Linked DNA regions of Homo sapiens: region 2 is linked to region 1. Evidence: promoter capture Hi-C in human tissues and cell types (Jung and others, 2019). All regions are on one chromosome and are shown on one strand. The core of a region is centred on a gene start or on the middle of the fragment in contact, and the rest is flanking DNA. Distances in the headings are between cores, read along the strand shown.

Region 1 (5,034 bases), core at 1,254-3,753:
TTAGGATAGGCTTCACTGGAATTGGGACAGATTTCTGAGTACCCCACTGCAGCAGTGAGGTCTATAATCAGTTCTTTAAGGACTAAGAAATGGCATTGTCCTCTATTCTGAATTCAACCACATATATTAAACAGATATTCCTGGTCAATACCTGTGTATATTTTAGTCTTTTCCAAATTGTAATGTGGGACCCTAAAACCAGACATAGAGAAAAAGCCCAAGTTGCAAAATACTTTGCTATTTATGACTTGATTGCAATAAGATTTCAAGAGTTCACAAGGACAATATGGAATATTTACTTATCTCAGGTCTTCTGACAAATATTTGCTATGCTTCTGTCATACCATGAGCTTTCAGTAGGGTGGGAAGAGGAGATTGAAACTGGTGGCAACCATGAGAGACTGCATGGTGGTTTTAACCTTTCTTATATAAGCCATGTTTATAGTTAAATTTAAAACAACTTTATTAACAAACAGATAACAGATACTAAACTACTGATCTGAGCAGCCACTGAGTGTTCCATACACTGACTCTGCTACAAGTCCTGCAATCTTGCCTAATCATTGTTTTATCTCCAGCATAGGATCTGAGAGTTGTAGATTCTCCATAAATGTCTGCCGTCTTGCACTTCAGTAAAAATGCTGCACAAGGTGCCTGAAAATTGTGCCAGCCCTTCGGTATCAGGGTGGTATTGGTCTAAAATTGCCTCATGGTAGAATAGGACTGGCAAGCTCAGAGAAAGGTTAATTCCTCCCCCCCACATTTACTTATCTTCCTGTTATCTTTGAATATATAGTCAGATGGATTTCAAGTCCTAGCCTCTCTAAGATATTCTAGAAAGAATTAACTGAAAGGTGATTTTTGGTCCTTACTTAGCCCATTCATTAAGTGGAAGGGCACCCCTGAGAACAGTGTGGTGGTGACAGAAGTCATTGAAATGGGACATGTCTAAATGAAAAGATAAACTGAGAGGTACAGGGTTAGAAGCTGGAAACAACCGGGAAAATTGACCTCCACTGGAATATTTATCCAGAGTCTAGTTCCAAAGCTAAAATGCAAAGGTTCTTGGATTTCTTCTATTAAGAACAGTAATAATGTCTTGCTTGCCTAATCTCATTTGATAATTTCTCCTTTCTCCGGGCTTAATGCATCCCTCACATATTTATATGCTCTGGCTTATATATCTTTATTTCTTGTAAATTTAGTTTCTCAACACCTACATATGTTCCTTGAAGGTGATGGGTATGTCTTTTATTTCTTTTATGTCATCCTTTCTGCCCAGTGCTTAGCACAGTGCAAGGCACCTGTTGCCCAATAATTATAAACAATTGACTCACTTGTATTGTATAGAACATCCATCCTGATTCTAGGGAGACTCAAGGTGGCAAATACATTAGATTGTATAGAACTCTCTGAGGTCATTAAGATCTTGGCAAGTGTGAGGGTGGCACAAAAGTTCATCGATAATTTTCCTTAAAATGCATGTTCAACTGGGGCTATCATATTCCCTGCAAAGCTGGCTTAAAGCTAATAATACCACCATCTGCTTTTATGTAGCTCTTTGCAATTTGGAGCTTCATTAATAATACATTACTCATTTTAGTGTCACTAAACCCTGTACACTGGTCAGGGTAAAGCCCTTTTCTCAAATGAGAAAATTGGAGTGCACAGAGATAAAGGACTATATGCACATTTACAAAATTATTGAGTGGCAGAACCACTCACAAAAGGCAGAAGCAAGCCTTTTTTCATCCAAAGGTAGAGTACTTCCCATTCCTCTGCACTGCTTAGTAGACTATTTTTCAACATGGTAAAACTCTCTGGGACAAGAGGAACCTGAAGATGTGGCCCCTTAACAAGAGATGTGGAGAAATTAGGAAAGGACATGCTTTCTTAATTCAAATTACAATGTATCACAAATTCATTTATCCAAAATGGTTTTCTAACCTGGACTTTACCTGGGCAACATTCTAATAATCTCCTTCCAGAGTATGGGAAAAGAAACCGAATCTGAGAAGGGGATAAGAATACTCCCTATTCAGTCAAAAGAAAGGGTTAAAATGTGATTGTTTAAAGATTTAAGGTGGAGAAGAGAGTCTTGAATTATCTAAATGTAAAAAAACTAGGGTAAAAGGCTGGATTTCCTTCGGAATGTCTTTTTCAGCTTATAGGGGAAAAGTTAAAGGGTGTGTGTCTGGGGGGAAGGGTTAGGGAGGGGAAAATAGAACCCTTTTCTTCTAACAGCCTTTCTTAAAAAATAAAAGAAAAGAGAAACAAATGTTTGTTTCTGTTATTAAGCCCCATCTATGCTTAAAAGTTAAATGAAATAGGGAAAGTTCAGGCACAGAGACGCGTGTTCTGATTTGGTTGTTTACCATCAATCAGACCGTTGCTTGGCAGACACTGGATGGTTATGAGCCTGAACAAGCTGAAAAGGGGCAGGAAAAGAAGTGGAGGCAGCATTCTTCCTATTTAAAGCTGCATCGCTTGAAAAAAGTTTTCGCAGACTGTGCTGGAGCTGGTGCTGAAAAAGGGGGTTTGCAGAGGCTGCCCTGGGGCTGGTGCTGAAAGAAGAGCCCACAGCTGACTTCATGGTGCTACAATAACCTCAGAATCTACTTTTCACTCTCAGGAGAACCCACATGTCTAATATTTAGACATGATGGCAAACTGGGCGGAAGCAAGACCTCTCCTCATTCTTATTGTTTTATTAGGGCAATTTGTCTCAATAAAAGCCCAGGAAGAAGACGAGGATGGTGAGTTTGCCATTTGCTTTGCTTGTAGTGTTTATTGCACGGTTTGGGAAATAGGTGGAATGTTAAGCCTCAGGAAGAGCGTGAAGAGGAGGTTCTGGTTTGAAGTTTGAGAAGGGGGCTGACGGATTTGCACCTGGAAAACGACTTGAAAGACAATTGGGATGTTTGTAAATCCGGAGCTTCTAGATCCACCGTTGGAGAGAGTACACTACTAAATTTTTCTGGGAAAGCCTACAATAAGTCCTTTTGGCTGAGTGTGAGAGTGGGACGTTTAAAATAAGAAAAGAGTGAATGCTTAAAACGGAGCACTAAAGGCATTTTAGTTAGAGGAGCTCTGTTCTGTGGGCTGGAGTTTTCAGAGCAAGGAAAAGTCGCGGCAGAAGCTGGGTAGGGTGGAGTCTTTTTGTACTGAACTTCAGCTGCTTCATAAAATTCTTTGTTTAGTAAAACCTCTGCAGCAACTCTGATAGCTTTGATTTTTCTTTGTCTTTGGCTCCTCATTCTTTCCTCTTTAACAATTTAAACTTCTTTTTACCATTTTCATTTGTGAAAATGTGATCACTTTTGCTTACTGGGAGGCAGTCTCGTTTGTTTCTCCATGACAGAGGCTGATAGAAGCCAGATTTCTTAAACAGTGGTATTTTCCCACCCTACTGGCTTGATTAACAGGACAGTGGTGGTTCCCGGTTGGATGGCGGAAGGCAGGAAATCAGCATGTCTTGTATATATCTTATTTGGCATGGAATATTTGCATGGACATTACCCCTTAGACCCAAGCTTTTTTTTTTTTTTTTTTTTAAAGATAAATCTTGCCTGGTGACCACATTTTTTTCCTATGCAATTTTCATATGTTACAGTTGGGTTATATGGTATGGTTAAGCAAAAATGCATAGCTGTTGTAGTATATAAGAAAATATTTAAATTGATTCCTCTATTAAATCTTTAATCTTGAGGGTTGCAATTTCAAATACAGACATGTACTCCTTTAAAATAAGCCACTGTAGATTTTCATCAACTCAACCATGTAACATCAAACTCAAGCTTTTAAAACTTTGGACATTCATTAACCTTTTCTATTACTTTCATATATAGACACATACATACAGGTATATATGTATATATACTATGTATATATCTATATTTTTAGAACAAATATCTGCTTCTGTGTGTTTTTGGTTTCAAAAAGTTTATAAAATTAATCTAGAGATCAGAAGTTCTAAAAAGCTTAAAAAGTGAAAATACGAATTTGTAAATGAATATCCAACAATCTGTCAGGAGTCCCATAGAGGGGGCACTTTCTAAGACTTGGAGCTTTTTATGTTACGTTTTATGTTTTTAAAATATGAGGTAATTTATAAAAGGTGAAAACTTTTGAGTTTCTTTGTAATGGCATGAAAAGCATGTGTTGTTTGGAAGGGTGGCAAAAATAATTGAATAGAAAGTAGAAGAAAACAGGAGGAGAAAAACACAGAAAAATTACAATAGAAATTGAAAATTTGACTCTAGAAAGAACAGTTTACTCCCCTCCCCCACCAAAACAACCAACTTTAATTTAAAACCTTTAATACCACTTTCTTTGTTAATTTATGTTAAAATGAATAAAGTACTTTAATAAAGTATGGAAATAATTGAATATGTGAATAAATGAAAGGACTGTTTCACAAGGTACATGAAATAAGCCATATTTTAAAAGACATTCCCAAATAGTTATAATTACTCTGTAGGTGTTTTTGAAAAATGAGCAGATAATTTTTCTTAATAGTAATTGACATAAATGTAAGGAATGTGATGCTTGATGCAAAAAAGTCCCCAACTCCAATCCAACCCCAGTACCCCCCGCGAACAGTATAACCAAATAGCACAGAAAATGGAATTCCAAACATCAAATTTTACAGAATGTGTAATTGCTTGCATATGTGTTGTAAAAAATTCCAGTATTTTATTTCTCAACTTAAGAGAATATAAGTGATAAAAATTCAACAGCAAAAGAAAGTCGTCATTGCCCTAATCAAACATAATAGAGAAAATAATTCCAGAGTATAGTATATTCAGAGCTGCTTAACTTATATTGTACTTACTTACTATGCATATTTTGGTTTAAGTTGATATTGTATGGATACTTGGCAATACTTTCTTTTTCCTGTTCAGGCCTATCACAAGCTTAATAAAGGTGTCATAATTTAGAAACTCCATTTGATTTTGAGTTTGGGGAAGAGTAAGCTTAGATCGATGCTTTAAATTAAAGAAATATCTGAGGCACACATGAAAAGCAAGTACA
Region 2 (5,034 bases), core at 907-3,406, 43 kb after region 1:
TGCAATTCTGCATAGGAGATTTGTCCTATTCTATTTTATATTTTGTATGTATTTACATCGGTATGGACTCATAGATATTTATTTTACATTTTTGGTGATATTTGAATGCTACTTTGCTTATTTTATTTGTCAAACTGTTTCAGTTTTGGCCACTGGAAAGTCTTTCAGTTGTATTCTGTGTCCCTTTGATATATCCCCATCATGTGGGCTTTTTTGTGTGTATGTACTTTTTTACTTTCGGTTACTATAAGATGTTCTAGGTTCGTTTTGTATATTTATTGGCCCAGTCCTAGAATCAGCTGTTTATTCAAAGAGCTCTTGTTCCTTATATTGGAGAATGCTATCAGAAACCACAATCTGGGACCTAGGTGTGTTCATTGCTACTTGGGAGTTGTTGCTTCTGTGTTCTGTCAGCTGACAGAGCAAGGAAATATATATGTGTGTACTAATAGTTGTATATACAAATATCTATATATATTTCAATTAAGCATGTATGAGTTAATATTTGGAAGCAGAGACAGTAGAATCGCCTGAGAAGAAATCTGAGCATTTCTTCTCAGATTTTTCCTATATGTGATATATAAACAGAAGCAAATCAAGACATATTAATAAGTAAGATAAGGGTAGAGCTAGACAGAGGCTGGAAATAATACCTTAAAAATATACCGGGCCGGGTGCATTGGCTCACACCTGTAATCCCAGCACTTTGGGAGGCCGAGGAGGGTGGATCACAAGGTCAGGAGTTCGAGATCAGCCTGGCCAACATGGTGCAACCCTGTCTCTACTAAAAAATACAAAAATTAGCTGGGCATTGTGGCATGCACCTGTAATCCCAGCTACTCAGGAGGCTGAGGCAGGAGAATTGCTTGAACCTGGGAGGCAGAGGTTGCAGTGAGCCGACATCATGCCACTGCACTCCAGCCTGGGTGACTGAGCAAGACTCCATTTTATATATGTATATCCTAAACCTGGAGTCCTCAACTGGATTAGGCCCACACAGATATTTTCCTGGGCTCAAACAGTGCTTTGAAAAACTATTAGAATTACATCATTAACATCAAACAATTGAGAGATGTCAAACACAAATATTGATTTCTATCTTCTCTTTAAAATTTGCCAGGTCTGAGAAATCCTAGGCACACATCATTTATGCACCCATCACCTTGTGCTGAATGGTGGTTCAAGCCTTCATGAGTATTGCACAAGCCCCAGTTCAACAGCCCATCTACCCATCCCCCGCCCCCAACTCACTGTCTTCTGCACAGTTAGAAGCTAGCTCAGGTTCTAGTCCATGTGCTGCTGTTTTTTCTATTGTAGAGGAGAAAGGAAAATATTTCCTGGATCCATGGCTAACAAATTAATAAGATAAGAAAAAGCATTTTCCTCTAAGTGAAAAGTATCATTTTTTGTTTAATACACAATGTGTGACTACATCAAAAGAATATTACTTAAAATTTCAGTACAAAATCAACCCAGCTCACCAAATTTGGATTTCTCTAATCCTGTGTTCTTCAATAGTGATCAGAACATAAGTCTTCCTTCTTGCTACTTGTACAAAATGACTTCATCAAGTAACATGAGCCAATACAGAATTTGGATTTAGGCGTGGCCTTGATATATATGTTATTATTAGATTTCAAAACTTCAGAAGACATCTCTCATGTAAGAGTAGGACTTCATTTTCTGTGATAATTTTATACCTCTTGTCATTTCCTATAAAAGACCAATGATAATTCACTCAAGATCCATAAATCACATTCTATTGCTATATTTAATGTATTATGTTTGTGTTTTTGCTTGAAGAGATTGGTCCAGTTAGTTTTATTCAGAATAAACACGAACGAAGAAAACATTTGTTAACTGTAGATTAATAATTGTAATTATAGAACCTATAATATAGATTTCTACTACACTAAAGAGATGGAATTTAGATTCAGCATTTTATTTGACATTTGGCTTCTATTTTTCAAAATGATGAATATTATCAGACAATAAAAAGTTTGGGCCATCAGCAGTTAAAATGAAAATAAAGTTCAGATTGTAAGTAGCTGAAAGTGAAGCAAGTTTATAGCTTGCCATGTTTTACTAACTGAACCAAACTAAATATATTTGGCAAGACAATGTACTTGTGGCAAGAAAATGGAAAAAAGCAGTGTGATTACTTGAATAAGGTTGAATTTAGGTCTAATTCCAAGTATTAAAAATAAATGTAAGATAAAATATAATAACTATTATAAAATATAACATTAAAAAGTATAGAAAGATCAGGTTTGGAAATTTGACTATCTCTTTTCCCCACTCTCCATATCATTGTATTATTGTTAGCATCATAAAATTTCATAGTGTTTATGTCTGTCTGTGTAAACATACAAACACAAGATTTCTCCATTGTTATACATGTATGATATTTTTATATACATATATATTTATAAAAAAGAAAAAATATACAGATGCCAAATGTGAGTGTATATATAACTACCTCCTAGTTAACCTGTGTAACCACACCTGTGTAAAAGAAAATATCTATATCCTCAATACACACATATGAAGCTTTTACATATATATAAGTATATACATATATAAGCATATATATAAATATGTATTTATATACATGTAAATTTGTACTCAGGTATTTTTGTGTACATAGCAGTAAGGTTTTCATTAGAAGATGCTGATTAGCTCACTGGAAACTTTCTGGTTTGCAGAATAATATGTTGTCTTTTTATACACAAATTAATTTCCTATGAACATGTGTAGCATAGATTAGCATTAAAAATTAATCTGATAAATACAAGGTGACTTAACTATTAAGTTTCTGCACTTTCAGTGCTGAGAAAACAGAGCTTTAGTCAGGCCTAGCTCAGTAAGTCCCATCCCACTCGCAATCATTTTATTCTAACACCTCCCTGAACATAGCCCATCCAGGGAATAAATGTGACTGGTGGACCTCTTTCTCTGCTGATCCTCCTTACTGATGAAAGGTTTACACCTGCAATAACACTCTCTTGTTTCAAATCCAGGGCCTATCACTTATGAGGGATGGGAGTTGCTGTGAGCTACTGTTGGTTGCCTCATGGGAATGATACTGTTTATTGAGGATTAAGTGAGATCAAGAATATAAAACAGTTAGGACAATATATAGCACATATTAAGTATTCAATGAATGTAAGCTTCTATTGCTGCCTCTCCTATTACCACTATTATAGCTACTACCAATTTAAACAAAATCCTTTTAAACTGAATGATCTTTTAATATCTCTTATAAAATATGTGTTCTTTTTCATTAATCTGGAGATTTCCTAAATGTGTAGATATAAGCATAGTGTTTGCAACTACTTGAAGCCAAAACAATTGAAAGACATTAGCCTACGGATTATGAATGATAAACTGCCATGTGGAGTATTATCTTTTGTTCTTCAGTTCACTGTTTGTAACCAATATTTATGACACAGAGAAGTAGGATTTGTCAGAAATCATTGCAGTACTTCATTTTCAAGCTTAGGCAGTATTTCTTTTACCAGATATGTACTCTGCAGATTCATAGAGCGTTCAAAGCCCATGTGTTACTCTTAATAACTCACAACTGACTGTGTGGCAATATTTTCTCATAAAATATCTCCATTATAAATTATGTATTACTTAAATATCCAGGTTAGGAAGAAAAAAGTTGCTAATAGGGTTGAGGTAATAGTCCAGTAATCCATGAGCATCTGTGGTAGGTTCTGTTTTTATAATTTGGTTGTTTTGAATTAGAATGTATATGGTTTTAAATTAAGCCAGTCATTTTTTATTATTTGACTACAGCCATGATGTAAGCTGAAATGGAAAATAGGAATAGAAAGATAACAAGAAGAAAAGTTGTGACTTGAATTGAAGATTTATTACATATGTTATATGTAGTCCAGCCAACCCAACGTTATGAGCTGGAGATATGAATACTATCCTTAAAGGCAAGATAACTTTTCAAAACTTTAAAATTAATGCCTTGTATAACTTCTCAGTCTGTACTAATTTCATGTGGTTAATAAGGCATGCAGAAGCTAATGTTGTTACTAATGAAAAATTAATTGGGATTAGAAGAAATTTCATTTTCTAAATAATAAAAACTGATTGTCCACCCTATTTTCCTGATTTTAGCCAAGCTTAAGAGATGTATGTGCAACTCTTTTGAATGGCATTTATGACATAACTTGTTTCATTTTCCTGAAATTTGCCCTTGGTTTGTTGTTTGCTGACCCTCAAATTCCAGGAAGGCATTTTCATGTAGGATTTTTTTATTCTATGAGTTCATCAATTTTGAATTTGCTTTATGCAAAACTGTTGACAATGATGTACTTTCTAAAATTTATTTCTGAGATGGAGTCTCACTCTATTTCCCAGGCTGGAGTGCAGTGGCGCAATCTTGACTCACTGCAACCTCCGCCATCCGAGTTCAAGCGATTCTCCTACCTCAGCCTCCCGAGTAGCTGGGATTACAGGCACGTGCCACCACACCTGGCTAATTTTTGTATTTTTAGTGGAGACGGGGTTTCGCCATTTGGCTAGGCTGGTCTGGAACTCCTGACCTCAGGTGATCCACCTGCCTTGGCCTCCCAAAGTGCTGGGATTACAGGTGTGAGCCACCACATCCAGCTGATAATGATGTACTTTAAAAATAGAGTCTAGCAAATTGCCAAAAGGTTATATTTATATTGCCAACTACCTTAGAGGAATTTTCAGGCTTAGATTATAACTAACTCTGTAAAGGCCAGCTGGCTGGTGAGAATGCATAAGGTTCTGCATGACTGGCTTTAATACAGAATGGAGGGCAAGTATACCAATAACTCTCAGAGTGGGATGAAGAGGATGACAGATCTAACAACCTGTATTGATTCCAAAGAAATCAATCAGCATATCATTTTTAGTATTTTTTTCTTTTTTGTTGGTGAAAGAAGAGCTTTCATAAAGGGTCAAGCAATTCTGTATGGCTGTGTCCTCCCTGGACTGCATGGTCATTTTCAAGCAGAGGGTGTGGCAGCGATTTCATGTATGTCT

Evidence for each region. The method cuts DNA at HindIII sites, captures the fragments that hold promoters and counts their contacts. A contact is called where the count stands out against the background at its distance.
Region 2: a fragment that was not itself captured here is called in contact with the fragment with the promoter of COL5A2 in region 1 in 2 of the 25 tissues and cell types used here (aorta and mesenchymal stem cells).

The regions. Positions count from the first base shown.
Region 1 is chr2:189,177,230-189,182,263 of GRCh38, reverse strand. It overlaps COL5A2 (collagen type V alpha 2 chain), which reads left to right and starts at 2,503. Exons shown (of 54, transcript NM_000393.5): 1 at 2,503-2,756. The coding sequence starts at 2,660. The HindIII fragment of the contact is 11,142 bases long and covers 1-4,448 here.
Region 2 is chr2:189,133,908-189,138,941 of GRCh38, reverse strand. All of the region lies in intron 1 of COL5A2 (collagen type V alpha 2 chain), which reads left to right. Among named protein-coding and RNA genes, the nearest start is that of MIR3129, 3.3 kb to the right of the region's middle. The HindIII fragment of the contact is 3,329 bases long and covers 492-3,820 here.